Regions from separate parts of the Homo sapiens genome. Here all the other regions are linked to region 7. The links are contacts of gene promoters, found by promoter capture Hi-C in blood cells and fetal thymus (Javierre and others, 2016). All regions are on one chromosome and are shown on one strand. Each heading gives the region's core, a stretch centred on a gene start or on the middle of the fragment in contact. The rest is flanking DNA. Distances are from core to core; before and after follow the strand shown.

What was found. The method cuts DNA at HindIII sites, captures the fragments that hold promoters and counts their contacts. A CHiCAGO score of 5 or more calls a contact.
Region 1: a contact is called between a fragment that was not itself captured here and the fragment with the promoter of MYL12B in region 7, in 4 of 17 cell types (erythroblasts, M1 macrophages, M2 macrophages and 1 more). The highest score is 7.1, in erythroblasts.
Region 2: a fragment that was not itself captured here is called in contact with the fragment with the promoter of MYL12B in region 7 in 1 of 17 cell types (neutrophils); the score reaches 6.9 in neutrophils.
Region 3: a fragment that was not itself captured here is called in contact with the fragment with the promoter of MYL12B in region 7 in 1 of 17 cell types (M0 macrophages); the score reaches 5.6 in M0 macrophages.
Region 4: a contact is called between a fragment that was not itself captured here and the fragment with the promoter of MYL12B in region 7, in 3 of 17 cell types (activated CD4 T cells, neutrophils and naive CD4 T cells). The highest score is 5.6, in activated CD4 T cells.
Region 5: a contact is called between a fragment that was not itself captured here and the fragment with the promoter of MYL12B in region 7, in 1 of 17 cell types (erythroblasts). The highest score is 6.0, in erythroblasts.
Region 6: a fragment that was not itself captured here is called in contact with the fragment with the promoter of MYL12B in region 7 in 4 of 17 cell types (monocytes, erythroblasts, M1 macrophages and 1 more); the score reaches 6.8 in monocytes.

The regions. Positions count from the first base shown.
Region 1 is chr18:3,863,848-3,867,061 of GRCh38, forward strand. The region is part of intron 4 of DLGAP1 (DLG associated protein 1); the gene reads right to left. Among named protein-coding and RNA genes, the nearest start is that of DLGAP1-AS3, 13 kb to the right of the region's middle. The HindIII fragment of the contact is 7,229 bases long and covers 1-3,214 here.
Region 2 is chr18:2,669,467-2,673,018 of GRCh38, forward strand. All of the region lies in intron 3 of SMCHD1 (structural maintenance of chromosomes flexible hinge domain containing 1), which reads left to right. Among named protein-coding and RNA genes, the nearest start is that of SMCHD1, 16 kb to the left of the region's middle. The HindIII fragment of the contact is 3,598 bases long and covers 1-3,100 here.
Region 3 is chr18:3,839,559-3,842,777 of GRCh38, forward strand. The region is part of intron 4 of DLGAP1 (DLG associated protein 1); the gene reads right to left. Among named protein-coding and RNA genes, the nearest start is that of DLGAP1-AS3, 37 kb to the right of the region's middle. The HindIII fragment of the contact is 557 bases long and covers 1,228-1,784 here.
Region 4 is chr18:2,602,816-2,605,998 of GRCh38, forward strand. All of the region lies in intron 13 of NDC80 (NDC80 kinetochore complex component), which reads left to right. Among named protein-coding and RNA genes, the nearest start is that of NDC80, 33 kb to the left of the region's middle. The HindIII fragment of the contact is 2,954 bases long and covers 144-3,097 here.
Region 5 is chr18:3,899,010-3,902,092 of GRCh38, forward strand. The region is part of intron 3 of DLGAP1 (DLG associated protein 1); the gene reads right to left. Among named protein-coding and RNA genes, the nearest start is that of MIR6718, 15 kb to the left of the region's middle. The HindIII fragment of the contact is 1,272 bases long and covers 1,170-2,441 here.
Region 6 is chr18:3,882,046-3,885,265 of GRCh38, forward strand. The region is part of intron 3 of DLGAP1 (DLG associated protein 1); the gene reads right to left. The region is part of intron 1 of DLGAP1-AS3 (DLGAP1 antisense RNA 3); the gene reads left to right. All of the region lies in intron 2 of LOC124904238 (a long non-coding RNA gene), which reads left to right. Among named protein-coding and RNA genes, the nearest start is that of MIR6718, 1.7 kb to the right of the region's middle. The HindIII fragment of the contact is 3,134 bases long and covers 133-3,220 here.
Region 7 is chr18:3,260,306-3,263,635 of GRCh38, forward strand. MYL12B (myosin light chain 12B) reads left to right here and starts at 1,828. Exons shown (of 4, transcript NM_033546.4): 1 at 1,828-1,932. MYL12-AS1 (MYL12A and MYL12B antisense RNA 1) reads right to left here and starts at 2,054. Exons shown (of 4, transcript NR_130145.1): 1 at 1,748-2,054; 2 at 967-1,025. RefSeq lists an enhancer at 1,224-1,273 and a silencer at 1,484-2,373. The HindIII fragment of the contact is 3,443 bases long and covers 1-3,238 here.

The sequences.
Region 1 (3,214 bases), core at 349-2,848, 600 kb after region 7:
TGGTTCCCCTGAGAAATGCTGCCCAGAGGTTAAATTCCTTTGGCCTGGCCTCCAGGCTAGACCATATCTTCCATCTTTGGGCAACTTGGGTACCTTAGAAAATAAAATCCTGTATTATCTTGTCAACTAGGAATAAATTCTGTTCTCCACTTGCTTATTTCTACCAGCTGAGTGGTCAGCTACCCATCTGGTCTTTTCCCTCCTGCTTTTATCTGGCCACTGCCCCCAGAGTTCAGTCTGGGTCAAACAAGTGCTAAAGAAATCTTGGTTGAATAAAAGACTCAGGGAGAATGACAGTATTATAAAATCATTTAACAGAATTTTTCATTATATGCTTGTGGACAGAAAATGTGAGGGGAATACATGTTACAACAGGTAGAATCAAGATGGGTTGAAGCGAAGAAATGCAACGCTTAGTTCTATTCATCTATTCATCTAATAACACCTTCAAAAACATACAAGAGATCAAATTGGCATGGTTTAATTTTAGGGAATTATTTCACTTCTCAGTTCCTTAGAAGTCCCTGTTAAGTGAATAATTAATATTTCATTCTTATGCATGGTGATATGTTATAAAACATTGAACCAAAAGGAAGTGGAGGCTTTTAAACATGCCATATTAGGACTAACCCTTATTTTAAATTAACTTCATCTGGGCTTAAACAAAGAGGGGAGAGAATTAAGCAAGAGTTTGCTATAGAACACTGAACTATCTGCAGTGTGATACATGTACATGAGGAAATACCCAAAACCAGCTAAGAAGAAGGATTATGAAGACTACATTGACTTTGACTTCTAAGTTCATCACTGAGAATGGCACCTTTATTCTGATAGACTTCCGAAGTCTTACTATTCTGCATTGTTGTCTGTTATAAGGATTTAATATAAACTCTACTGATATTCTCTAACAGCACCGTTTATGCACTGGATACCTGCAGCCACCTCTAAGGTGGCACATGTAACTGTTCCACCTTGGATAGTATATGACTCACTAATTCAATTTTACTTTGATGGGTAATTACGCAACATTCTAAGGGTAGATCTTTAGAGAAACATATCTTTTCCTTCAAACCTGGACTAGTAATTTAACAAATAGTAAAATGGGTAAATCTCCCAAACACTTAGTTAACACTCTGGGATATATGAGGCTCATGTACCAAGCAGAATTCTGGTTCACAGTAGGCTGAGAGATAACCATCTGGTCTCCCAAAAAGTAAGGACAGACAAAATATAAAATCACACTGACTTATCTCTGTAAGTCTGGATTTTGGGTTTGGGTTTAATTTAATTGGGTTTGAAGACTCCTAGTTTACTTCCTAATCATTTCAGAAGCAGACATTCCAAAATTAAATTAAGCAAAGAATATTAAATGGGCAGACAGTGCATATTTGTCCGTAAGAACCTTACAGTGTTATTAACAATGTTATAACTACAATTAGGCTGGCAGTCTCATGGGGTCAGTAGTATTGTTTCTTGTTGAAACAGACAAGCAAATAAACACAAGGAGCCTTGAGTAAAGGTTCTTTCATAGGTTGAGATATACATTTCCACTGACATGAAATAATGTCCTATTACAACCTTTTTATATATCTCACTTTGCAAATCAACCTCATATATTACTTGTTTTCAAACATGACTACTTTCCAAACTAGATTTAGTTTTACACCTAATCATAGAAGTAGAACCTGTTTTTTAAACCATAATTATTCATTTTTAATTGTTATTAAAAGAAATTCTCATTTAAAAATCCTTCAAGAGAAGACCAAAGGAAATATTTGCAAAGCAGAGGCATCATGTTATGGTGGAAAGCAAACAGATTGTGGAATCAGACAGGCCAGAGTTTAAATCTCAGTTTTGTCACTTACTAGGAGAATAATCTTGAGCAAATTTAATACCCTCCTTTTCATATAAAACAGGGGTCAGAACGGCTACCCCAGAAACTTCCAGAAATAAAGACAATGTAAGAAGAACAATGTATGGTAAACACAAGTCCATAGAACCTTCTTAGTAAGTTAAAGTTCTTCTTACTCTCCTTCTTGTTCCCTTTACCCCATCTTCATCTTATTCTTAGTCATGGTCACATAAAAGTGGATCCAGCATGGGATGGAGATGAAAAGATGTTCAGTATGGTGCTGTGGAAAGAGCACTAGCCTGGGAGTCAAGGGGCCTGTGTGTTCCTAAAAAAGTCAATTCCTCTTTTTTTGGGTCACAGCTGGAGAAAAGGTATGAAGGTAACATAAGAATTTGTCTATCAGAGCTTAAAGCCCAAAAGTGATTTTGTAGTCTGAGTCAATCAGGAACTCCTGGAGTCCCAGGATCAATTGCTGTCTTTTTAATGAAGGGCAGGGCACCAGGGCTGCAGTCTGGACTGCTGCTGCTGCTGCTAATACAACTTACCACACTGGGGACGGATAACTTTCCAAGCTCAGAATACAGATCCCAATTTTTTGGGGGGAACTTATCAGAGTTTTCCGATTGATCTCATTTATTAAGAGTGGGCTTATTAAGAACAGATACAGAAGTTTCCCTCCTGGATCATTAAACTCTTTCTTAGACAGCTTAGATTGATTAATAGGGAAGGAATGGGCAGTAGTTTTCAAATTATAGACAGCCCAGGTACAGGGTGGGGTGGGGTGGCTTGGGGAGAGAATTTAGATTTGAAACCTCCTGTTCTTGCGTCCATGTGAGTAGTGCTGTTTTAAATTGTTTTACATGTTTTGCTTTATTTGAACACAGACTTTGGTGGTTAAAAAGTACAAAATGCACTGGGCTAAGTGATACTTTGAGTTGTTCCAGACACCTGCTTCTATTGATGGTGTGTGTTCTTGGAAAATTAATAAAGAAAGGCATAATGAGATGCTCTTTCTAGAAACTTTAGCAATAGACAGGGCGTAGGCCACAGCAAATTAGATCCAGCCACCAGAGTGGAAAGGGCAGGGGCTGGGACTGGAAGGAAATGTCTTGAATATCCATCAAGTGTGGAATTAGTGTTATTTTTTATTTTATTTATATATATTTTTTGAGACAAAGTCTTGCTGTGTCACCCAGGATGGAGTGCAGTGGTGCTACCTTGGATCACTGTAACCTCTGCTTCGCGGGTTCAAGCAATTCTCCTGCCTCAGCTTCCCAAGGACCTGGGAACTACAGGCACATGCCACCACACCCGGCTAATTTTTTTGTATCTTTAGTAGAGACGGGGTTTCACTATGTTGGC
Region 2 (3,552 bases), core at 52-2,551, 590 kb before region 7:
GGGATTATAAGCACCTTGATTTTCTTCTTACCTCACTGCCTGCCCTTTCTTCTCTCCCCACCTTATTAATATTGAAGTGCCTTAGGGCTTAGTTCTTGCCCTTTATGTTGTATCTTACTTCCTCACTTGGTGATCAGGTCCTATCTCATGGTTCTAAATAACATCATTACAGAAGTGACTCTCACAAGGAAGAGGTAGGAAATGGTCATTTTTAGTTAAATATTGAAAATGGTGCCGGGTTTATCTCTTGAAGTCCAGTTTTATCCATCCAGCTGCCCATGTGGCATCTCCTCTAGGATGTCTAAAATGGGAACCCTCATCTGCTCACTGAATTTTATACCACACATAGTTCCCCCTATCTGAATTGATTATTACTGTGTCCTTCCTGCTGCACAGGCCAAAAATCAAATTGATACTTGTATTTCTCATACCTCTCATACCTCTTAATCTGACAGAAAATCCTTTGGGTCCTATTCTCAATGTTTTATCTTAAAATGACCATTTCTCACCATTTCTATTGCTACCACCTGGTCTGGAGGCACCATTGTATCACCCAGATTACACTAACTAGTAGTTACTGGTACCTGTCTTTTCATCCCTGTCCATAAAAGGTTTGAGAAATTGGATTGTGTCACTCGCTGCTGAAAACACCCATGGCTCCCCATTTCACTAAGAGTAAACACCAAAGTCGTTACAGTTGCCTGCAGGGACTTACTAGCTCTGCTTTGTACTTCTCTGACTTTGTTTCTACTACCTTTCTTACTTTTTCACTCCCCTTCACTGCCATCCATATTCTCAGCTTAGGGCCCTCTGCTTGGAATGCTTTTCCTCCAGTTAGCCCTGCACTCATTTCTTCACTTCCTCCAAGTCTTGGTTATCTGTTGTGTTCTCAACAAAACTTAGTCTATTTAATTGCAACTGTATTCCTTCTGTGTCTTTACTGTTACTTGATTTCATTTCTCTGCTGTTTCTTTTTTCTCTATTGCACAAACCATCTTCTAACATGCTATAGAATTTATTTATTATGATTATATTTTCTTTCCCATATTCCTCCATTAGAATGTTAAATCCCTAAGAACAGAACCTTCATCTGCTTTATTCAGTTCCTAGAACAATGCCTGGCACATAGGTGCTTAAATATTTTAAAATTGAGTGAATCTGGCTGGGCTCACGCCTGTAATCCCAGCACTTTGGGAAGCCCCGGCGGGCAGATTACTTGAGGTCAGGAGTTCGAGACCATCCTGGCCAACATGGTGAAACCCCGTCTCTACTAAAAGTACAAAAATTGGCCAGGCGTGGAGGTGGGTGCCTGTAATTCCAACTACTCGAGAGGCTGAGGCAGGAGAATCGCTTGAACCTGGGAGGCGGAGCTTGTAGTGAGCTGAGATCATGCCACTGCCACTCCAGCCTGGGCACCAGAGGGAGACTGCATCTAAAAAAAAAAAAAAAGAAAATTGAGTGAATCTTTTAATTCTTTTTTTTTTTTTTTGAGATGGAGTTTGGCTTGTTGCCCAGGCTGGAGTGCAATGGCGTGATCTCGGCTCACCGCAACCTCCGCCTCCTGGGTTCAAGCAATTCCCCTGCCTCAGCCTCCCAAGTAGCTGGGATTACAGGCGTGCACCACCACACCTGGCTAATTTTGTATTTTTAGTAGAGATGGGGTTTCTCCATGTTGGTCAGGCTGGTCTCAAACCCCTGACTTCAGGCGATCTGCCCGTCTCGACCTCCCAAAGTGCTGGGATTACAGGCGTGAGCCACTGCACCTGGCCCATGAATCTTTAATTATTTTCCTGGGGATAAATTGCTAAGTGTATAATTATAGAGTCAACAGAAGTATTTTAAACTCTTAATGTAGTTTATGTTTCATATTGATCAGTTTTCATCATGCCATCATTATGAAATGATATGAAAACCCTATCAGTTGAAACCATATCAGTTGAAAACCGTATCAGTTTTCATTCATACCATCATTATATGGATAAGCAGAAAACCCCAGTGTTTAAAATCTTGCCTTGATTTCTGTGACTTTACAGTACATTCCCGGGTCTTTCCCTACTTCTGTTTCCCTACTTCTGGTTCTTTTTGACTCTGGTGGACATTTCTTCAAGTTATGTTGATCTTTTCTTTTCTTTTTTTTTTTTTTTTTTGAGACAGAGTCTCGCTCTGTCGCCCAGGCTGGAGTGCAGTGGCACTATTTCGGCTCACTGCAAGCTCCGCCTCCCGGGTTCACGCCATTCTCCTGCCTCAGTCTCCTGAGTAGCTGGGACTGCAGGCGCCCACCAGCACGCCTGGCGAATTTTTTTGTATTTTTTTAGTAGAGACGGGGTTTCACTGTGTTAGCCAGGATGGTCTTGATCTTCTGACCTGAAGATCCGCCCGCCTTGGCCTCCCAAAGTGCTGGGATTACAGGCGTGAGCCACCGCGCCTGGCCTTGATCTTTTCTTTTTATACTTTCAGTAAACTGATCCAAGCCTTAACTGTTGTACCTGTGTGATGAAGCAAATTTCTTTTTCCCCTCTTCTTTTTCATCTAATCAGATTCTAAATTCTACTCATTTCTTCCTTCCAAATTTCTCTTTAGGTTTCTTTTCCTGCCATTTCCTACAGTGTCCCTTCTTCATTTTCTGGAGTTATTACCTTAGCCAGATTACCCTTGTACATAATCTGATTTGTGGTAACTTCTTTGCAATTCGTTTATAAACATAGCTGTCCTTGGAGTGTTTAGGGTGAGTAGAAGTGCTTGCTGGAGTGCTACTTTGGTTTTTTTGTTTTTGTTTTTGAGATAGAGTCTCGCTCTGTTGCCCAGGCTGGAGTGCAGTGGTGCAATCTTGGCTCACTGCAACCTCTGCCTCCCAGGTTCAAGCGATTCTCCTGCCTCAGCCTCCCGAGTAGCTGGGATTATAGGCACCAGCTACCACGCCCAGCTATTTTTTTGTATTTTTAATAGAGATAGGGTTTCACTGTGTTGGCCAGGCTGGTCTCAAACTCCTGACCTCATGTCATCAGCCTGCCTCGGCCTCCCAAAGTGTTGAGATTACAGGCGTGAGCCCACATCCAGCGTGAAATGCTACTTTGCATTAATTACAGCTTTTGTGGGGTTAAGCTTCTGCAGAATTAAGATACGTAAATTTGATATGTTCCCTTTCTTTTTACTAAAGGGATAAAAGCAGGAAATAGTGTGAATAGTGACCTTGAAGAAAGGAGAATATTAGTTAATGTTGAGCCAGTGATAAATTGAATGTCACGTTGGTGGTGTGGTAGTGAATCTATAGCAGTTCTGTGTCAGTTGAACAGATGTATTCTGCCACTTGAAAAATTTGTTAGTCATAAGAATTCTATATCCAAATTAGCTTTCAAGAGACACTTATCTTGCAGATGAGCAGTATAGGAAATTTAAAAAAAAGACACTTATTATCACTTCATATTTGCCCTCGTATTTCTAGATGTGCTTACTTTGGACTTGTGCTTGATGTAATTACATACTGCAGACTATTTGATTTTATGGTTATGGTCTTCTGTTTGTCTCTTAATGTCTGTATGTCTGTCTTTAGAT
Region 3 (3,219 bases), core at 256-2,755, 580 kb after region 7:
ACATAAACAGGCACTATATATACTCATGGGAAGCAGCAAGCTTCACTTCGGACCTAGGGCCTCTCAGGGTACTGCTAGAAACAGATTCTGTTGAAGGTATTCAGCTTGTGCTAATAGTCTGTACTTGTTTTAAAGACCCAGGAGGTCTTTTTCAGAATGTATTTTCTTGAACAGCCTCTTTCTATCACCAACATGGCACTGAGAACAATAGAAAACAGCTCCTTTTGTTTCTGGGACACACCTCCTCTTTTCTAAGATTCATGCCTGGTTGCCCAGGGAAATTCCTCAAACCAGCCTTTATTCTGAGCTGATCACTCTCTTCTGAACAGGACATTCCGCCATCTGCTCAGACACCCTGGCTGTCAGCCCCACCCTGAATCACCAGGCATCACCTCCCTTCTCAAGGAGACCTCACTTCTCTTTATGTCTAAAGCCCCACAAATGGCTTTACTCCTTCAAAACCCTCTCTTTCTAGACTTCCTCTAGCGCCAGCGTTGCAATTCCTCTGACCACGTATTTAGGCACACATATAATATTTAGAGGGCCTCTCTACTCCACATTTAACCCTGTAATATCATCTTTTTTATATTAACATCTTATTCCTCTTTATCAGCTCATTTGGAGCCATGTTTCATTTCCCAAAATATCACCACTATATTCTTTTGGCTGTTGCATCAAATTACCATAAACCCAGTGGCTTAAAAAATCTCATATTTAATCTCTTACAGTTGTGGAGGCCAGAAGTCCAAAATAGTTTCACTGAGCTGAAACCAAGATAGCAGAGCTGGGCGTCCTCTGGAGGCTCGAGGGGAGAATCCATTTCCCTGCCTTTTCCCCTTGTCCCATGGTCCCTTTCTCCATCTTCACAACCAAGAGCAAAGCATCTTCAAATCTCTCTCCGCTTCCACGGCCACATAGTCTCCCTCTGCTTCCTTCTTAAAAGAACACTTGTGATTACATTTAGAGCCCACCCAGATAATCCAAGACAATCTCCCACCTTAAGATCCTTAATGTAATCACATCTGCAAAGTCATCTTTTCCACATAAGGTAACATCCTCAGTTTCCTGAGATTAGAGTGTGGCCCCATCTGGAGCCTCTATTCCACTAACTACGACCACCCACACTAACACCATTGTTAATCGAGTACTTACTCTGTGCCAGGCATTATTTTATGATAGGCACCATCATTATCTCCATTTTACAGATGAAGCAGTTGAGGCACAGAAAGCTTTAGTAATTTAGTAAAGTCATATAGACAGAGAAGTGGTAGAAAGAGCATTCAAATCTAGGTCTGTTCAACTGGAAAGCTGTCACTCATTCACGGAACACCCTGTTGCCTCTCACATTTTCCAGCTGACTGTGTGCGTCTGTGTTCTGGTTTGAATTAAAGGAACCTAAAAACTCTCATGGTCAACACAAAATGGAAAATTTCCCAGAAACTGCACATGTCTCTTCTCTAGCTGTACTTGTAGATATTTCTTCCACAAAGAGCATAGCTAATTAACTGGTTAAGTGGTAACAAGTAGCAGTTTGCTTCCCCAGTGAAATACCAGTGGAAGCCCCCCTAAGTAGTCTGACATCAGGCTACGGTTGAAGAACATGAAGGGCCAACTGAGTTCAGGCAAAGTGCTATGGAAACAGTAATCACAGAGCAGGTCCAGGAAAATAATGCCTGTTTAAAAGGACAATGGAAATGAAACAGAAATGTAAGGCCCAGCTACTTTCTCTGTAGAGAAAGTGAGAAAGGCTGAAAACTCCTGTAGACATAAGGCTTGAAGAAGAAAGCTTGAGAATAAAGAATACAGCACAAAGGGAAGTACTTTCAGTTTAATTTAAGGGAAAAATACACTCAGGGCTGACTATTGGAGATCAGAAGGCAAATGAACACTGGCAGGCAGTGAGAAATTAAGGATTTAAAAAATGATCCTTATACATTTTTAAGAATAAACTTTTTCTTTTATTCTAAGGAGGCAGTAAATCACGTGGAAAATAGAAAGAACTGGTCCCTGGAGTCAAACAGACTGAGGGTCCCATTCCTTAATATCAGCATCATACATGACAACTTGAGCCTCAGTTCTTTCATTTACAAAATGGGAACAACAACACGAAGATTAAGGAAATTATATGAACCACCTTAGCACAGTACTTTGCAGGAATGAGTAGCATAAAAAATCATTGCATCTGGTTTCTGCAACCTCAGCAAGACAAAAGGTAATACAGCTTGTTAAAGAGTCCAGCTAGCTACTAGTGCATTCAGAGAGAATTCACTCTGTGCCAGGCATGGTGCTGGATCACGGGCCACAACTATGAATAAGAGACCAGCTATGTTCTTTCATGAAACGATCTAGTGGAAGAGTCAAACAAGAAAACAGGCAATCCTACCTAAGATAGAAGAAGCATGATAAGGAAATGATGGGTGCTATGAGAGCATATTGGGAGAGGATACCTCACTTAAACTTGGCCAGTCAGAGAAGGCTTCCAGGAGGAAACATTATCTTAGATGAGACTGGAAAGTTGGGAAGAGGTTAAGTAGGGAAGAGAGGAGTTTGGCAGGGGTGGGGGGTGAGGGGTGGAGGGGGTTGTAGGCAGGCAGAAGAGACAAAGGAGGAAGCAGCTCATGCAAAGGTCCTGGGCAAGAGAACATGGCACTGCTAAGAAAGAGAAAAGCAGACCAGTATGGCTGAAATGCAGAGTGGACAGAGGGAGTGTTAGGAAATGAGATTGTGAAGGAAAAAGGTCCCCAGCTACATCATACTCTCTAAGTCATGTTTAAAAGTTTGGACTTTATCCCAAGGGTAAAGAGGAACCAGTGAAGGATTTTTAAGCAGAAGATTTAATGATTTTATCTGTATTTTAGAAAGATCATTTGGGCTATAATGTGCAGGATGAACTGGATTTAGGAGAAACTAGAGGCAGGAAGACCACTAGGAGATATTTACAATAGTCTAGCTGAGAAATGATGGAGGTTTAACTGGGATCGTGGCAAAAGGAATGGCGAGAAGTGGACAGAAATAAGATTTGGTGTTTTTTTTTTTTTCCACTCATTCATTCATTCAACTAACTTTTATGAGTCTGCCTTAGAGGAGAGACACGAGGGTGAGATAGAGAGAGGTATCAAGATTGGCCCCATGTTTCAGCGTTAAAAAAAAGCATAGATAGTGGTGCCATTTACAGGGGTAGGAAACATGGGGTAGCAGGCTCTTGGGAAGATACTGAGT
Region 4 (3,183 bases), core at 371-2,870, 660 kb before region 7:
GCTACAGGAAAACATGGCTTAGAGGGGATGCAACTGAAAATGTTAGGAGACTTAAACCAATGTATACTAGAACTAGAGGGAAGGAAACAGGTTTAGGAAATGTTAAGGAGGTAGAACCCAAGGATTTCATGGCTGCATGTGCAAGCTTGAGGAGAAAGAAGTATCAACATGACTTCCATATTTTTGATGTGGGCAACTGAGTGAATCATAGTGCTATTAACCTAAAGGAGGAAAACTTAAAGTAGGGTGTGGTGAGATGTTGAGCTTGCTGTCTGTAGGATATCCAGGAGGAAGCAGAAGCTATAGATTCAGAGTGTAAGAAGGAGATCAGGGCTGAAAATACAGATTTGATGGTCATTAGAGCATATGTAATAGTTGAAGCCATATATGTGGATGAATGTGGAGGGGAAAGTGGCAGAGGATTGAATCCTAAAGAGTAACAACATTTAAGGGACCGGCAAAGGAAGGAGATTCTGGGAAAAACTCTTAGAAAAAGTGGACAAAATTAGTTGGAGAACAACAGAAGAGAATATGTTTATACATATATATATATATATATATATACACCTATGTAATATATATAAGCCAAAGTAGGGAAAACTTTTCAAGAAGGGAGAGATCAGTAATGTCATACAGAGACTAACAACTAAAATTGTTTTTCCTATTGGACAAGTAGTTTAAGTTAAGATGGGATGGGGTAAAATGCAACTGGAAATAATAAAGTTTATAAAGAAATTAATAAATTAGAGTAACAAAACATTTAACCTGAAAAGTATTTTAAAATAATTGCCAAAACCATTTAAGAAAAAGCAGGAAAATATAAAATGAGAAATAGTTTATAGAGATGGTGGAAATTTATTTGAATTATGAAGTAATATAGTATAAACAGAAATTTATGTTTAAAATTTTTTGATGAAATGGATTGTAACCTGAACAATAGAAATCCCAAAAAAGTCAAAATATGTAAGTAACCAGAAACCAAAGTGAAAAAGAGAATTTGCTCTTCAAAAGACTCCAATAACGGATAATTTCATAGGTCACTGTTTTCAAATACTGAAGACTGGATGATTTCTGTGACATGTAAATTATCATAGAGCATAAAGAGACCTAATTCATTTATAAGGCTAATGTAGGCCTCATACCACAACATGACAAAGATATTACAAAAAGAAGAAATTAAGCTAATCACACTTATGAATATGAATGTAAATAAAGGTTAAAGTTAAATATTTGAAACTGAAATTTATGCAGCAAATATTTTTTGAGTGCTTATGTGCCTAGTACTGTAATAGATGGTGATACTAGTACAGTGCAGCATCTGCCTTTGTGAACTTCATTTTAAGTGGGAAGATGGGCATGAAAACAATTTCTTCTATCATAGCTTTTTGTAATGTGAATACAGCGCACTGTGGATTCTCATAATACACTTAAGTACAGGCTCCTTCTGAGAGAAGTGATAGCTGGGCTGAGTTGTGAATAACAAGTAGGTGTTGGCCAATGGATACACAGAAGGATGCTCATGTTCATCCACATGCATGCACACACACATACACCTTGAGGACCAGAGACCAAGGAGTACAGCATGGACCGGGCATAGTGGCTCACGCCTGTAATCCTAGCACTTTGGGAGGCCAAGGCGGGTGGATGGCTTGAGCTCAGGAGTTCAGGACCAGCCAGGCAACATGGCAAAACCCAGCCACTACCAAAAATATAAAAATTAGCTGGATGTAGTGGCATGCACCTGTAGTCCCAGCTACTCTGGAGGCTGAGGTGGGAGATTGCTTGAGCCCTGGAGGTGGAGGCTGCAGTGAGCTGAGATTGTGCCACTGCACTCCAGCCTAGGTGACAAAGTGAGACCCTTTCTCCAAAAAGAAAAAACAAAGAGCACAGCATATTAGTAAATTACCATGAGTGTAAGTGAGATAAGGGAGAAGCCTGGAGAGACAAGAACCTAATTATGAAGGGGCTTGCCTTACTGGTTGAATTTTTTTGTATTCTTTAGGCAGTAGAGATCAATGAAGATTTATAAGTAAGGAAATAACAATAATTATTGTTATTTTAGTAATTTCACACTGTTGGCCTTTTGAAGAATAGATGAGAGGTGCATGAGACGAGACCATGCAATTAAGAGACCTATCAATATCCTATACAGTGAATAGTAAATGGTAGGGACCCAAAGCAAGGCTATTACAGTGAAGACGGAGAAAGGAGATTTAAAGATGGAAACAACAGTTTGGTTGTCCATTTGTATGTGAAGGTCAAGAAAGAAATCAAGAATGCCCAGGTGTCTTATCTTTGGCAGATGGGTATGTGGTGATGTTCTTTACCTTGATAAAGAATATAAAAGAGAAGTATATAGAAGAGAGAATTGTAGGTTGGGATATGCTGAGTTTCAGGTCTCTGGGGCATCAAAGTGGAGAATGTCCAGTAGGCAATTGGAGTCGGGCGGGCTATATGTATGTGTGTGTGTGTGTGTGTGTGTGTGTGTGTGTGTGTGTGTGTGTGTGTGTGTGTATGTACACAATGGAAATGTGTACTTTGGGACTCAGAAAAAAATGTTTAAGTAATTAATGCAGCTTTAGTAATGCTGACATGGAAAGTAGAAGCTGCTCAGAGATGAGTAAACATGCTTTTGACCAACCATGAGAATCAGTGGAAGTTCTGGTTACTTGAGTATCTGTTGTTGTTATTACAAGTGAATTTAAAACAACTCGTTTAACTTGTTAGTTACTGCAGATATAACATACCTTTAGAAAAAGTTCTTGGTGTTAGATCTGGTTTTGAGTTCTGGGCGTATGCTAGTTGTATATGTCACTACCCTGTGTTTTGTAGCAAATAATAATAGCTTCACTAAATTTGAACCCCTAAATTTTTTTTTAATTTCATATGTGTGTAGAATTATCCTTTAAAAAAAAGTCAGCTATTTATACATTTTACTCTTTTGTGTTTCCTGCAGGAAACAGTTTCCTCTTGGTATAGCTGAAGAACATTCTCTATTAATTGCTGACATCAACTGGTATCAGCACTTGCCAACAGGAAATGAACTTGAAAAACACTTTTTTCTTTCAGTTTTGGTTTCAACTGATCTTAAAGTTCAAGCTTTAACAAGATTAAATGTGGTTACCTTATTACTTTTTGAAGGAATGCATGACTATAATAGCAAACATCCAATAAAATTAATAC
Region 5 (3,083 bases), core at 556-3,055, 640 kb after region 7:
CAATTTCCGTATGGCCACTTCTCACCATCTGCTTATGTTGGCACAGGGTGGGAGGCAATTCACTTCATTCAGGGAGGCATCCTACACTACACTTATGAGCAAAGACCTGCAAGTCAAGTGAAAGAAATAAGGAGGGGGAAATGAGCCCACAATGAACACTTCACTGGGTGGCATCCTATGGGCAGTCTGCATTGACAGGTGTTTGTCTAGCAACCTCCGCCCATGGCAGCTTTTCCTCTGACTGCTGAAGGGGTTTGCTTCCTTTACCCAAATCTGTGTCAGGAAAAAACTCCACTGAAGTATGGTTATAAGTTTCATCTCCCAGACAAATAAACAAGCAGCCTATATTCCAGCAGACCAGATCTGAGTATGATCAACTGGCGCTGGCAAGAGTGCCTGTGGCCAGAATGAGTGGTACCTGTGTAAGTCAGAGAAGTGGCTTTGGGCAACAGCAAGAATGTTAAAAGGATGTTGCTTGCAGGAAAATCATTAACTTCATATTTGAGGAAACCTTTTGGATGTTTACTTAGGGAATGAGATTCAAAATTCGGGCTGCTATTGCTTTCTTATTCTCCTTACACTCTGTATCCAGGTTTGGTCCAATTTCAGAAAATGTCCTTCCCATTGCTTTGAATTTCTGTCTAGTTTCCTTCTACCATAGCATCTTTAACCAGAAGGAAGCCATCTTCTCTTACTATCCCACTTTCCGCCAGTGTGAGCTTAGAAATGTATTGTTCTTTTTCTCCCTCTCCCTCTGTTTTTCTCCTCTGGGGAAGCTTGGTAGGAAAAATCAGCGCTATAAATTGCAAGTTTTCCTGCTAAGATCCTTGGCGTATAGCTGGCTGCTACTTCACCTTTTTAAAAACATGATCAACATCCTGTGTCCTGTTAGAATTAGGTAACTTAAACTTTTTATCAAGGTTGATTTTTGTTTAGACCCTGGGAATGGCTCTGCATCATGGCATATATGCAAAAACAAAAAACAAAAAACAAAACCAAAAACAAACAAACAAAAAATCCTGAAGAAATAAATTGTGGAGACAAATGTTTATAAGTACAAATATGAACTCTGCAAAAAGGATTGGAATCCAGTGGCAGGTAGATAAGCTGTAAGACTGGACCCATAAGTAATGGAGGACTGTACCGAAGAAATGTACTCTGTACCCCAAAGCTTATAAAATAATTGAACAGGGGATGTGGAAAGGGAATCTGATATTGGCAACACAGCGTGTCTCTCCTGTGAGTTACTGGAAGTTTGAGGTAACTGATGACAATTCTGTCTGCCCTGATACCGACATTGTTGTTTCTCATCAGCTCCCTCCTCAGGACCCCCAACTATCTCTCCACTTTCCAGCACAGATGTCTGTATTTCTGGGCACCAGGTCCTTTGGAAATAACACTTTAGCACCTTTTAAACATTTGCTTCACTACTGAGTAGTTATTTGCACATTATTCTGTCTTCCCTCCTAACGAGAATTCTTTAACAGTCAGACTTGTTTGCTCAGCAACTACCCCAATGCCAGGCACAGAGTGAGCGCTCAGTAAACCCTGAATGAATAAAACAAAAGGAGTGGAAGAAAGCCTATCAGCTTGTGGGCTCATTTTTGTATCTCATAAATAAATGGATACTCCAAGACTTGTAAAAGAGGAACATTATGCCCTTGGGATGCAGGAGGAATCACACATGATTGTGTTAGATTAGATTGGGTTGGTTAGAGGAAAAAAAGAATTTGGCCTCAGAAAGCTATTTTCTTCAATGTGGGAGTTTGATGTAACAGAATCCCGCCTTTGGATATTCCTTATTTGGTTTCGGGTACTGATAACAAAAAGGACAAGGAGAAAGATATTTAGAAATGGTTTAAAAGATATTCTGTCCAAGCCACCTCGCCTCTCCCATCTCCCCCTCGACCTCGTTATTTTCCGTCCTCCAGGATGATCTTTCTAACTTCCAAATCTGATCATGTCCCTTCCCTGCACAAAACGGTCTCTATTCCCTTCAAAATGACGACTAGGACCCTTGCGCAGCTTGACAGCCCCTCGTGATCTTGCTGTGAACGCCCTCCACCCTCATCCCTACTCCCTTCTGCTGCTCCCTCAAACCTGGGCTGCAACCACCAAACGACTTGAAGTTTTCCTTACCCACCCTGGCTCCCTGTTCTTTACGACTTTGAGGATGGTGCTTACGTCCTCCACTTAAGCAATGCCCTTCCCTGCCTACACAGCTCCTACTCATCCTTCAAAATTTAACTGCTCCTCTGCCCACCATCTCTCATTCACTTTTCACACTGAGCTCTGTCCAAATCTAGTAAGGCTCTGCAATTGTCTCCTACACTCATTTCCTTCCTTCTCATCCTCTCTTCTCCCACTGTGGGGTGACCACGGTTACCCGTAAGGACAATACACTTTCTGCTTTACACCCCGTCCACTGCTTGTCAATAACAAGCTTTATAATCTCCCAATACTATAAAAGCTGAACCACATGAAGGAACCCTGGAGCTGGTTCCCTAGGGATGTTGGCCACCATGCTGCTGGCTGTGAGACATGTGATTGCTCACCTATGTCAGCACATAGATATGGTGAGGGAGAAGGATCTGACACCTGACCCACAGTCCCCTACATCCTCATGGGTGGCAATATTTTACCACCTACATGGGGTATTTTCACTTTACTTTAACATTTCTGCTTAGTCTAAGAAATCTCCCCCTCCTTAATTGTGTTTTTCAGAAAACCAAATGGGTTATTACATTAGTTCTGAGCAATGAGAGGGAAGCAATCCATACATATGGAGTGGCAATTAAATTAAACCCTAGAATTAGGATATAATTCCCAAGTGAAAATGAGCTGAAGGAGAAGTCTAATAGGAATGCCTCAACCTCTCAGTTGGCCAACAGACCCCTAAGGTGTCCGTGGTACTCTGAGATTTTTCTTCTCACACTTTGCAACATTCATTTGTGGGCTTGTCTTTCCGCTCCACCAAGCTCTCAGAGAATAAAGTGAAGTGCATGTCTGCCTTCCCACTTCCCAGCACAGTAGCTGCCTAGAGCACAGAACCTCAATACCAGCATTGAATTTCACAGTGAGAA
Region 6 (3,220 bases), core at 450-2,949, 620 kb after region 7:
TCCCCCCAGGTTACTCAGAGTGGGAAAAAGTAAAGATATGGCAAATAAATCATAAATGTAGAGAAAATCTGCCCAGGTATTTCTGTCAATTGAGGGTCAAGAGCTTTCTCTAAACAAACAGAGAACAAGTTAAGCTTGACTAGGCTAATTTGAGGATCATATATCTCTTCTTCCTAGTTTAAGGTTTCTGGTTGAGTATTTACGCACAAGACCAGGCGTGGTGGCTGACGCCTGTAATCCCAGCACTTTGGGAGGCCAAGGTTGGAGAATCGCTTGAACCCAGGAGTTTGAGACAAGCTGGGAAACATAGTGGGACCCAGTCTTTAAAAAAAAAAAAATTAGCTGGGAGTGGTGGTGCATGCCTGTAGTCCCAGCTACTCAAGTGGGGAGAGGATTGCTTGAGCCCAGGAGGTTGAGGTTGCAATGAGTTGTGAATGCACCGCTATACTTCAGCCTGGGTGACAGAATGAGACCCTGTCTCAAAAAAAAAAAAAAAAAGTTAATAGCCGATGGCAAAATGACCAAAGGATGGCCCTTGAAAAGTTCTTGAGGACATGAGTGAAGGACCCCAGACCTAATAGCTCAGCCTCAGGGAAAAGTCACTCATTCATATCCCATGTAGGGTATCTCAGTCCATTTCCAAGCTCGGATCTTCCGGAGTTTTAGTAACTAACAGAGGCTGCTATTCCATCAGGGCAGAGTATTTTCTCTGGACTCCAAAACAGTGTTAGAGTCAGTGCCTGACCAAGTTCCTTCTGACAGCCTGATTTTCTTTCAAGACTTCCTACAATACAAAAATTGCCATATAAAGAGTCATCTTGGAAAGCCAACATGACTCTCTAAAATATCACTAATGTCATTTCAGATATTCCTAGAGAGATAGATATGTGGTTTAATTAAGAAACAAAACATATAGTGCTGGGTGCGGTGGCTCACGCCTGTAATCCTAGCACTTTGGGGGGCCGAGGCAGGCGAATCACCTGAAGTCAGGAGTTCAAGACCAGTCTAGCCAACATGGTGAAACCTCGTCTCTACTAAAAATACAAAAATTAGCTGGGCATGGTGGCGGGAGCCTGTAATATCAGCTACTTGGGAGGCTGAGGCAGGAGAATTGCTTGAATCCAGGAGGCGGAGGTTGCGGCAAGCCGAGATCGTGCCACTGCACTCCAACCTGGGTGACAGAGCAAGATTCCATCTCAAAACAAACAAACAAACAAACAAAAACAAACAAACATATAAAACACCCACACTGGACCTCATGAAAAAAGATTTTTGAGAGGCCAGGTCTTGTCTATTCCATGAGACATACTGCATCTGGGAGCGCTCATGACAATGTTGGCAATCTCTATCCATGCTTTGTGAAGCTCCTTTCTTCCTCCTGTCTCCCAGTTTCTGGATTGACCATTCAGGAATAATGATGAAAGGTTTTAATCAGTACAGTCACTCAAAATTTGTTAGTCTACTAAATTGTGACGTCCTTAAGGGTAGGGACTATGTTTCACCCACCTAGTATTTGGCAAAGTGCTATCCTAGTGGATAGTGGGAATTAAGTTAGTAGAATATTTACTCAATTACTTAATGCATTAATGCAAAATTTCCCAAAGTGGTTCATAGTGTGATTCAAGTAGCATCTGTTTAATGAAAACATGACTGTGTGGCAAAGGCCAGGCTGGGCAAGGCCAAGGAAAGATGCCCAATAGTTGGGGGGACCATTCCATCAGGGTGACCATTCCAAAGACCAGTCTTCAGAGCAAGGCAGGAAGCAGACTGGTGAACACTCCTTCTGACCTATATACCTTTGACTTCTAACTCTGCAACTCACTGGGCAATATCGTACCTTCTGCCGTTCTACCTGTCTGGAAGTAAAGTCTGGGGAGTTTGCCTAACCTGCTGACTACAGGATGCTTAGACAGAGGGCAATCCGCCTGGAAGAGAGAGAGAAACTGACTCTTGAAGGGACAAAAAAGGAATTCAGGACTTATGATACCTGTGGATAAGGAAGAACCGATAGGTAAAAAACGTGTCCACTGGTGACAGACTAATGAAACAGAAAACCTTGGGATTGCTTTGTATGAAGTTATGGTCCTAAAAGTAGGCTGTGGCAAGGAAGAATGTAAGAGGGTTAAGTATGTGTTTTTAGCAAAACTGTGGCACAAACTAACTTAGATGCAAAAATCCATTGCATAAGAAAGTCTCTCTCTACAAATCAGGTTCCACTGAGGACATTTTTGCCTTTCAAATACAGACTTATAAAAAGCAAAAACAAGATTCTATTAGGATTATAGACACATACTAACTTTTATGATCACATATAGTAGAATCTCAATATATAAAATGATGTGGAATAATGTTTCGAACTTTCCTTCTCAAGCAGTTTGAATCTTGGGTAGATATTTTCTGCTAAATAAAATGTGAAACTGGCAAGAGCTGAAAACATGAATTATACATGTTTACTCCAAAATATACAAGATTATTTTAATCAGGTATTCAGTATTTAATTATCTTTAATATGTGAGCAACATTCCATGCAAGATGACGTTACCTGAGGACAAGCAGAGCAAACGAAGAGCTGTTTAAGGCCACTAATGATGATTTAAGTTAAATGATGTAACCAATGATAATTTCTGTAAATTAATCATACACAGTGTGTTTTTTACTAAAATTTAACTGGGCTATTTTCAGCACAGGACAAGCACCTCTATTTTCTTGGAGGGTAACAAATTGCATCCAGAATAAATAAGCTAACATTCCTCCTTCCTTACTTGTATTTGTAAAAGAGATATTGAGATCTTGATCTTTTTTCTCTATGATGTGGGAAAAGAAGGTCATAAAAAATGGCAATAAACATTTCTAAATGCTAAATCTATCTTTCTGGTCAAGGCCAAATAAACAACTTAATACCATGGCCCTTTCTGTAACAAATCTTACACTCTCTTCTATCGTCTTGTCATTTTAAAATGAAAATAGGTCAATTTGTGATTATAAAAGAAAACACATTCTGTGACTTCTTGGTGAGCAAGGGCAAATGATCTAAAATCCTAAGGCCATTGGCAATGGGTAGACAATTGCTGGTGGCACCTACTATGGAGGTCCTGCTCTTCCTTCTCTCATTCTTCATTTTCCTCTTGCCTTACTCTTAAACTCCCTTTCCAGCACATTTATCTCTGTCACTTCTTTTTTCCCCCCTCTCCTAATTAATGTTTATAAGTTGTATCCATGG
Region 7 (3,330 bases), core at 578-3,077:
TACTAAAAATACAAAAATTAGCTGGGCGTCGTGGCACAGGCCTGTAGTCCCTGCTACTCGGGAGGCTAAGGCAGAAGAATCACATGAACCCGGGAGGCAGAGGTTGCAGTGAGCCGAGATCAAACCACTGCACTCCAGCCTGGGCGACGGAGCAAGACTCCGTCTCAAGAAAAAAAAAAGTGTCTAATACTGCCAGACGCACTGGTGCGGTGTCTCTCACCTGTAGTCCCAACTACTTGGGAGGCTCAAGTGAGAGGATCGCTTGAGGCCAGGAGTTCCAGGTTGTAGTGCATTATGATCACGCCTGTGAATAGCCAGTGCATTCCAGGTTAGGCAACATAGGGTGACCCCATCTCTAAAAATAAAACGTATCAAATACAACTGAGGAACTAAATTTAAGTTTAGCTGCATGTGGTTAGTGACGATTGTATTGGACAGCACAATTCTAGAAACTTTTTTTTTTTTAATTTAGACTATCGAACCAAAACCTAAGAGTAAATATTGTAGAACCAGGTGTGACTTTTCAGCAATTGCTTTTCTAACACTATTGAGAAAATACACACAGTTATGAACCGCGTTTAGAGCTGTGCTGCTGGGATGGCGACCACCCCATCAGCATCATGTGTGCTTACCAGAAATTCGAATTATCCTCCACCCCTTACTCACTGAATCCTGATACCCGGTTTTGAGGCTCAAAAATGTTTTTAAAAGCCCTGTTATTATGCGTGCTACTGTTTAAGAACTGCTACAGAGTGCTGAACACAAGGTCCCTCTCTTCTAGGAATTTCTGATCAAAGATTTCTAGAATATAAACTCCCTAAGAGGCTTTGAATTCATCTCTCAGCATCCGGCACATGTTAAGGCAGTAAGAAGAGTTCAATAAAGATTTGCTATTAGATTGCCGATCCTCCACCATCCTGAAGTAATGCTATTTTAGTAATGCTAGATGAAGTAATGCTAGATTACCTCAAGGTGAGGGAAAATATCCTGAAGAACACAGCCACAAACACGATCTAGAACAAAACCTGAAAAACGTAGCTTTGTGTTTTTATTTGTGTGTGCATGTATGTGTGTGCGTTGCCATTTTCTTGATAAAGGAAAGCAAGTAGTTCGAATAAAACTTTCTTGTGGCCAAAAGGGGAATCAAACAGCCGTAGGCTGCGGCCGTAGCCTGATACGGCCGTAAACCTTATGAGGGTAAGCAGAGAGGAGTAGGTTAAAGAATTTAACTCGGGCTGTAATGCGGTTTGAAAAGAGAAAGGGATTCTGGAACGGAGAAGAATCCGCCCAGGCGCCGCCCTCACCTTCTCAACATTACATGAGACGAACCCTAAAACCTGTCTTGTCTGAAATTCAAATTTAGAAGAACTGTACTTTTACTTGCTACATCTGGCAACTCAGGGTTCGGCGCCAGGGGACCCCAAATCCTAGGCGGATCGCGCCCCGCCTGGGTCAAAGGGGACCCCAAATCCTCGGCCGATCGCGGCCCACTCGGGTCAAATTCCAGCGGCCTGCCCAGCCGCGCCCAGCGGGCCCAGGAATGCGGAAGGGTGGCGGAGCTACCAAAGGAGCGGGGGACGAGGGCCGGGCTGCGGACGACCGCCGCAGCGCAGGCCGCGATATCGCAGCGGATCGGAGCAGGCCGGAGGGGCAATTAAGACCCCGGCCGTGTGCGTCCGGCCTCAGCAGCCCCGCCGCTCGGCGGACACGCAGACCCCGCCGGCCCGGGCGCGAACACTCAGCGCACCCCCGTTCCACTTGGTCCCGCCGCGCCTTCCGGTGCGCCTTCCGGTGCGCCTTCCGGTGCGCCTTCCGCTCCGCCCCTTCAGGCAGGAAGTGTCGGCGCCGCCACTGTCCGGCCACAGCCTAACGCTCTTCGCTGTCGTTTGTGGTCTCGCGCAGGGCGGCCCCGGTTCTGGTGTTTGGCGTCGGGTGAGTCGCGCTCGACTCTGCTCGCGAGACCCCTCGGGCCGCCGTCTCCGTACCCCCGCGCCCCCTCCCGTCGCGCGCCTGCGGCCGGACCCCGCCCCAGGGCGGCCAGGCGGCGGCAGGACCTGTCAGACTGGCTGAGAAGGGGGCGCGGGGCCGGAGGTGGAGGGAGGAGGGTTGGCGGCGGGAGGAGGGTTGGTGGCGAGGCCCTGGCCCGGACGTCCAGGGGCCGGGAGGCTGCAGGCGATGGAGCCGGTATGGGGAGACGCCCTGCTGGAGAAGTGGCCGGGTCCCGGCCGTGCGTGGGCCGGCCCTGCGCCACCTGGGTGACCTCAGACACCTGGGCCTTGGACGGCCCGGCTGCCCGGCGGCCAACGCCTGCCCTCCCGGCGCCGCGGCGGGTCCTGGCGGTGGATTGGGGCCGACCCGGGCGTGTTCGTGTGGAGCACCTGCCCTGTGCCCAACACTATCCTAGATGCTTTGGAGGGTGGAGGAGCCTCCTGTTGCACGGTCTTGCCTAAGGTGAAGCCTCCAAGGAAGCCATTAGCATGCCGGTAACCGAGTGTGTGGTTGATACGGGCTCAAATGTGATGATTTACATAGAGTTGTAATTCGCTCAGTGTGTCTTGCATCTTGTAAAGGTTTAGTTTATTCGTGTTGATTGAAGAAAGGACCATTAACAGAAATAGGGAAAGGTTACTTGGAAAAGAGTCGTGACCTCACTGAAGGCCTTGGATTCAACCTTAAGAGGGAGAACTTAGCGTTTCCGGCTAGATGTGTGGGAGGTGGTAACGAGCAAAACTCAAAAGCTGGGAATTGTGTCCTGTGAAAAGCAGGCCGTGGGGACACCGGCGGGTATGGAACAGAACTGTAATGACTAATAGTCGGAAATAAGGGTAGATAGGTAAGTAGGACCTTCTTATGGATGTCTTGAAAACTTAGGAGAAAGAAAAGATTATCTAAGAAGCCATAGAGAGTAATTTTGGAGTCTTCACTAACGGAGTAATAAGAAAGGGATGTTTAGAGGATTCGTTTGGCCGCTTTAGTTTAAGGTAGATTTGGAATGGTCTTTTGGTAAGAGAAGAATCAAAGCATTTAGAATTCAGTAGGACCTGATAGATTACCTTGTGAAGGCTTTGCGTTTTATAACTGAGGAAAGTGAAACCCAGAGAGGTGAGGTAATTTGTCGAAGGTGGTGGACCCTCCTGGACTTTATAACTAAGAGCACTTTTGAGTGCTTTAGGCTCTTTTGAGTGAAACAGCTTTTATGATGGCTGACTCGATGTTCGTTTATGCTTTGATGAAACTAAGCTTGAACAAGATGAACTGCAATTTCTGAAGGACAGATGTCCAGACAAGAGTTGCTAGGGTTAGGAAAGAACAGGATTTAGAGCCCCGACA